2 separate regions of the Homo sapiens genome follow, and region 2 is linked to region 1. The links are contacts of gene promoters, found by promoter capture Hi-C in blood cells and fetal thymus (Javierre and others, 2016). All regions are on one chromosome and are shown on one strand. Each heading gives the region's core, a stretch centred on a gene start or on the middle of the fragment in contact. The rest is flanking DNA. Distances are from core to core; before and after follow the strand shown. Region 1 holds the start of ARL13B (ARF like GTPase 13B). Region 2 overlaps PROS1 (protein S).

What was found. Contacts are between HindIII fragments. The CHiCAGO score rates a contact against its expected background, and 5 or more counts as called.
Region 2: a contact is called between a fragment that was not itself captured here and the fragment with the promoter of ARL13B in region 1, in 1 of 17 cell types (megakaryocytes). The highest score is 5.2, in megakaryocytes.

Annotation. Positions count from the first base shown.
Region 1 is chr3:93,978,343-93,981,788 of GRCh38, forward strand. It overlaps ARL13B (ARF like GTPase 13B), which reads left to right and starts at 1,813. Exons shown (of 10, transcript NM_001174150.2): 1 at 1,813-2,140. The coding sequence starts at 2,082. RefSeq lists enhancers at 1,421-1,580, 1,851-1,980. The HindIII fragment of the contact is 5,745 bases long and covers 1-2,455 here.
Region 2 is chr3:93,885,996-93,889,656 of GRCh38, forward strand. It overlaps PROS1 (protein S), which reads right to left. Exons shown (of 15, transcript NM_000313.4): 11 at 341-508. Among named protein-coding and RNA genes, the nearest start is that of PROS1, 86 kb to the right of the region's middle. The HindIII fragment of the contact is 1,576 bases long and covers 766-2,341 here.

The sequences.
Region 1 (3,446 bases), core at 563-3,062:
GGAGATAGCAAGCTGTATGAGATGTATATAAATTTGAATTAAAATTACATGAGGCTGGGTGCCATGGCTCATGTCTATAATCCCAGCACTTTTGGGAGGCCGAGGCAGGCGGATCATTTGAGGCCAGGAGTTTGAGACCAGCCTGGGCAACATGATGAAACCCTGTCTCTACAAAAAATACAAAAATCAGCTGGGCGTGATGGTGCACGTCTCTAGTCCCAGCTACTTGGGAGACTGAGGAAGGAGGATCACTTGACCCCAGGAAGCGGAGGTTGCAGTGAATCGAGATCATGCCACTGTACTCCAACCTGGGTGATAGAGGGAGACTCTGTCTCAAACAAAACAAAACAAAACCAAAAAAAGTTACATGATTTAGTAAAGGACAGAGACTAATTTAAAACCTATATGTATCTTAGTCTCAAATCATTATATTCCCCGCGAATACACTGGGATTCTCAGTGCCTTCTATCCTTTCATCAGGATTTGAAAATATTTATTTAAGTAGAAAATGAATGGACACACAGATCCCTACATATTGTGCATAATTTTTTCCCTACAGGAATGTCCTTGTCATTTCTTTTTCTCCAAAGTATATAAAAGAAATGCAAATATTACATACCTCTTTAAAAAATAAACTATTACAAAACAGTCAAGAGATAACAATCTTCATCTTGCAGATACCAAATAGCCAGCAATTTATGTACCTAAAAATCCTGAAACAAACATACATCAAAATGGTTATTTATTTATTTTTGAGACGGAGTCTTGCTCTGTTGCCCAGACTGGAGTGCAGTGGCGCGATCTCGGCTCACTGCAACCTCCGCCTCCCGGGTTCAAGCAATTCCCCTGCCTCAGTCTCCAGCGTAGCTGGGACTACAGGCGCGTGCCACCACACCCGTTTTTGTTTTTTTTTGTTTTTTTTTTTTTGTATTTTTACTAGAGACGGGGTTTCACCATGTTAGCCAGGATGGTCTAGATCACCTGGCCTCGTGATCCGCCCGCCTCGGCCTCACAAAGTGCTGGGATTACAGGCGTGAGCCACCGCGCCCGGCCCCAAATGGTTATCTTTGAGAGCTCCTGTGAGATCTCATTTTCTTCATCTTGTTTCTTTTTAGTATTTTTCACATTTTCTACAAGAAATGCATTTTTCTTTTGTAATCACAATCCCCCCTACAACAAATATCATACAATTCCGTTTCACATATGTAACAGTAATAAACGTTTTAGAGATTAAGGCTTCACTCTCATCTGAACTACTGAGAAAATTTAGCAAGCGAATTTCCCCCTTGTCTTTAACTTACAAGAATTGCCCCAGTGTATTGTTCCTGTAGTCATGCTGCCTAAGTCGGCCAGAATTCTAGAGGGTCCCCATCCCTGAGCAAAAAACAAACAAACAAAAAACAAGAAAAAAGAAAGAAAGAAAAAGAAAAACCCATGCACAAGACCTGAGATCTCTGAATCTCAGTTGGGGACACTGGAGAAAGGAAAGGAACAGCACCGTGGATTGGCAACACATTTTATGTAGGTATAAAGATAGGCCTTGCTGGAGATTTGTCCCGGATCCTCCAGCTTATCTCCGGACGCTCCGGTTGCCTAGTTACGAGAACGAGCTACCTCGAGCTCCGCCTCCTTCTTATAGAGTACTCCCCTTTCTCTTTTCCTAGTCTCGCGCAGGGGCGGGTAGCCAGGACTCTTCAGCCACTCAGAGGCCTCTACCTCAGGACCTCAACCGATGATTGGGCGAGCGCAGTACGGGCGTTGCCTGGGGAACGCCTTCCGCGCCTCGAAGTAACGTCAGCACGTCGACGCGGGGCTTTTCTTTAGCCGGGTCCCGCTAACTCGGCTACGGTGTATCTGCGTCTTTGGTCAGGTTGTTCCTTGGCTAAGAGGGCAGTCGTCGCGGACCCACGCGGTTAGCAAGGCTTAGTGCTCGGGCCGGCCGCCTTCACTTCCCTCCCGGCTTTTCCTCCCGACTTATCCACTTTAGGGGCGTCTCGGAGTGCCGGAGGCCCCCGGGGAAGAGCGGGGTGCCGGTGTCCGCTCCGGGCTCGGATGGGAAGTGGTGGGAGGAGCGACCCGGGATGTTCAGTCTGATGGCCAGTTGCTGCGGCTGGTTCAAGCGGTGGCGGGAGCCTGTCAGGTAGGCTGGAGCCAGCTGTCCTGGCCGTCCTAGGGGTTGGAGATGGCTGCGCCCCAGGGGCGAGGCGCCGCCTTTTCCCCGCGCCTGGACGAGTCTATCCCAGGCCGCAAGGGATGCTTTCATTCCCAGGGTGTCCCGGGAGGGAGAGATTGGAGGATGTAGCCTTGTTGTCTGGTCGACTTTCTGTTGCGATTGACAATGCTTACCGTTGTTATATTTTAAATAGGTTTGAATTTGTTAAAAAGTGTGTGTGTGTGTGTGTGTGTGTGTGTGTGTGTGGAATTGAAAACTATCCATTGTGTGTTTTTCCTCTGAAGCTTTTGTAATGGAAATTCTTTTAAAAAGAGGGGGACATGGAATATAGTTTTCATAATATCCGCACATTCCATTCCAAGTCACACCTCCACACAGTTGTATTTGAGGACGTGGGCTTGAAATCTGGCTCCACTACTTAATAATTACATGACTCAACCATTTTGGCCCCACCTTTCTTAAATATTAAATGAGAGTGATAATACTCTGCTTTAGAAATATTGTATTCAATGAGAACAAGTGATAGTGTTTTCTTAACTGTAATGTAGCTTCCAATTTTTATACGGTCTCTAGTAAAACCTTTTAATTGAAAGGGTCCACTTTTTAACATTTCATTTTGAAATGCTGGAAGTATTAATAATTAGTACCTGTTACTTGATATTCATTCATTCAAAAAATATTTATTAAGACAATACCTTGTGCCAGGCACTGTCTTAGGAAATAATCAGTGAAATTGATGCTTTTGAAACTGAGGCCTAACCTATAAAGAGATCTTGTGTTTGTTACACAAATAATGTTGACTTCACATAGTTCTAGTCTGGAATTGGGCCAAGGGTAAGATAAAGCAAAGTTGTTTTTTTTTTTAAATTGTTAACATTTTAAGTATATTTGCCATGAGAATGAACTATCCTTTAAAGAATGAATCTGAAAAGCTACACTTACACATTATAACAGAAAATACATGTCTAGATTGGAAAAAAAGTAACTTTAAATGAAACTAGAGATTCTTCCCCATTATTAGCTCCTAACTGAATTTGAATGTTTTAAATATAAGTAGTAAGATCAACTCTGTAAGTCAAAGATGGGCTGGGTGTGGTGGCTCACGCCTGTAATCCCAGCACTTTGGGAGGCCGAAGCTGGCCGATCTTTGGAGCCCTGGAGTTCGAGACCAGCCTGGTCAATATGGCGAAACCCCGTTTCTACAATAAAATAAACGGGCACGGTGACGCACGCCTGTAGTCCAAGCTACTTCGGAGGCTGAATCAGTAGGATC
Region 2 (3,661 bases), core at 304-2,803, 93 kb before region 1:
ACAACTGAGTATGGATTATCATGATGTTAACACTGAACATTACATTACTAATGTTAACATTAGTGTTAACATTCTCAAGTGTTAACTTGAGAATTTTAGAAATCCACTTCATGATTTATGCTGGGGATTTAAATGGGCACAAAACCACTACGTCATTTTTTTATTTCATTAATATAATTTCAAGGGTTACTAATGTTATTTTTCCATGATCATTTCAAGTTGTCACACTTAGTATGCTTAACAAAACAACTTCTATTGATTCTCAGAAACACACATATTCAAATCTATTACAGACAAAAGGAACTCATCCATGATGAATGATACAAGCTTGGATCATTACCGGTTTAATGAGTTCACTTTCCACTTTCCGAGGGAATCCTGCAAAGTATACTTTGGTTTCCAGCAATCCATTTTCCGGCTTAAAAAGGGGTCCAGGTTTATTTATATCCATCACAGCTTCTTTAGCTATTTTAATGCTAATACTATGTTCTAATTCTTCCACAGACACCTACAATTAAAAAGAAAAATTACCAAATAACCAAGTATTACTACATGTCATTTGAAATACTGGGATCTAAAACTTATGTTATTATTCCAATAAAATACTTCTGTAAAGTAATCATTTTAATGTAATTATTAATTTGTTACAACTCATTTGGAATGTCAAATTATGATAAATGTGATAAAAAGGCATTTAGGGTGGCAGCACGATCAAAAATTAAAAGCATACCATATTTTAAAGTTAAAAAAAATACTATTCTGTTAAGCTTAAACATCCAGTTATATATCTTTCAATTCCAGGCTGCTAGAAAATTAACAATTAAGTGAGCCATTCTATCTTAGGAAAAATTTAAGTGGCCTTATTTTGCAATTGTCTGATAATACGCACATGGAATCAATAGTGTAAATAAGTTCTTTTTTTTTTTTTTTTTTTGAGACGGAGTCTCGCTCTGTCGCCCAGGCCAGACTGCGGACTGCAGTGGCGCAATCTCGGCTCACTGCAAGCTCCGCTTCCCGGGTTCACGCCATTCTCCTGCCTCAGCCTCCCGAGTAGCTGGGACTACAGGCGCCCGCCACTGCGCCCGGCTAATTTTTTGTATTTTTAGTAGAGACGGGGTTTCACCTTGTTAGCCAGGATGGTCTCGATCTCCTGACCTCATGATCCACCCGCCTTGGCCTCCCAAAGTGCTGGGATTACAGGCGTGAGCCACCGCGCCCGGCCCATAAGTTCTTAATATAAAGTAAGAAAAATCAATATGTTCACTATTCTGTTAATTGCACACAAATTATTTTTTCTTTAAAATTCAAAAGTGATTGAGGCAATAAGAAAAAAATACATAAAATTAAATTGGAGTTTTCCAATTTTGAGAGTTGTTTGGGTTTTTAAAAAAGGTTTCAAGTAAGGGTAAACAACAATAAAAATTCCTTCTACAAAGGCAATTTGAAGAACCACTGCTGCAATCACTTCAAGTAAAACTATAGCACTCAAAGAGCAAACTCTTCACTCACTAACCAATAATATAAGCCAAACAATAAGCATATTAAAACACCATGATAGGAAGGGAAAAACTATCCTCCAACATAAAATAAATTTAGTTACACAAATTTAAAGTTGGTCAACACTCCTTCTTTAATATAGCCAATTAGCAGCATGTGAACAACTATTCTCTCCTTTACAGACTTTCTTAACTTAGCCTACAACACTTGACCCTGATTGCTTCTCTTTCTACACTCTAACCACTACTTCTCAGTCTCCTTTGCTGGATCCTCCCCTCCCCACAGCTCAGGCCCCAGACCTTTTTCCTGTAGCCATGCAAGTATTTTAAGTGAGACACTATGACTCCACTCCAGGGCATTTGGAAAATTTGGAGGTGAGGAACACTTTTATTTGTCACAATGAGTAGGGGCCATGCTGGCACTGCAAGATGATAGACAATCTGCATTATGTACATAGGCTAGTCATGCAGAATTAATAATAATAAGTAATGCAGAACTAATAATAAAATATCAAGTATTCTTAAAATCTTTTGAACATCACTGCTAGGTATTCATGTAGGGAATATTCATGCTTACAATCATCTGAGTTTGTGCATACATAGACACAAAATATTTGCTGCACTATTTTAGCATTCATTACATTTTTCAAGAATGTAATAATCTTGACAACTAAGGATAGATTGATATTTGTTTTGTTCATATCTTTACCAGGAACTTCCCACCACTTTGGAAAATTAATATTACCAATGGCAACACCATGTATGCCCTTAATGGTACTTGAGTTGCTAATTTAACACCCCAGCATTAGTCTTCATTTGTAGCTTTTACTTTATGCATAGAAGCAAGCTTTGACAAGTGTTATAGTTATAGTTGACTACGTATATATTGAAATACATATTATTTTCTTATAAATTACTTTCCTTTTATTTATCCATATTAATATAATAATGACAGAATTATTTTGGTTTTGATTGGGTATATGTGAAGGTAGTTTATATTACTGATACATTTCATTATAGAATAGTAAAGGAGCATTATATATTTTCAGACATTGGATGAGATAGTGTTTGGAACCACTGGTCAACACAAACAGTTTCATGGCCTTAAAACCCCTCTTTATGCTGAGTATTCAAAAATTTTAATTGAAGGCTTAACTTCAAAAATATATCCAGAATCTGACCACTTCTTACCACTCTTACCATCAGCACACCAGTCAAACTGTCATCTTCTCTCCGCTGGGTTATTCCAACAGTCTCCTAACTCCATATCCCCATATCCTGTTATACACTCATTCTCCACTTCTGGTTTCCACAAAGCCATTAGCTTCTGATTGGGATTATCTTTTAAAATGCAAACTAGATCATGTCCCTTCTCAAAACCATCCAGGGCCTTTCAATTTAGCATAAAATCCACATCCTCATCATGGCCTCCAAGGCCCTAGATGATCTTATTCTAGACCACGTTTCTAACCTCATTTTCTAACTACTCTCCCCTGCTGCTACACTACTCTGTGTTATTCCTCAAATACCAAACACATCCTATTCCAAGAAATTCTGTACTTGCTGTTTACATGGTACAGAATCTTTTTATATTCCCTCATTTATTTCTCATGACATGTGCTCTCAAGTCTCAGCTCAGATCTAATCTCATCAGAGATGCCTTTCCTGATTCTATATGCATACTAACCACCATTACTCTCTATGTCTTTGTCTGGCTTTTCTTTTTCCTTATAACATGAATAACTATCTGGCATATTTATTTTTTCATGCATTTGTTGTTTGCGTCTCACCATTAGAACGCAAGCTCCATAAGAGCACTGACTTTTTTTTATTTGCTGTTGTATCTTTACCACCTAGAATAAGGATTAGCACATAGAAGTGCCAATAAATATTTTGCTGAATGAATTATGATACATTTACAATTAAAATTCCTATTAATATTAGACTCATAATCAAAGATAAGATGTAATCATTTATAAATTCACCACGTTTGCCCAAGTGTGCTTTGTTTGTACCTCTAATGTAATGTATTTCATGTTACATTATATTATTTCCCAAAGAAGCATCAGCTACTTATCTGTGAGGTACTAAGCTCTAGAGCAAGGAAAATCTCTTGCTATTGTTGCGGGAAGTCAGGGACCCCGAATGGAGGGACTGGATGGAGC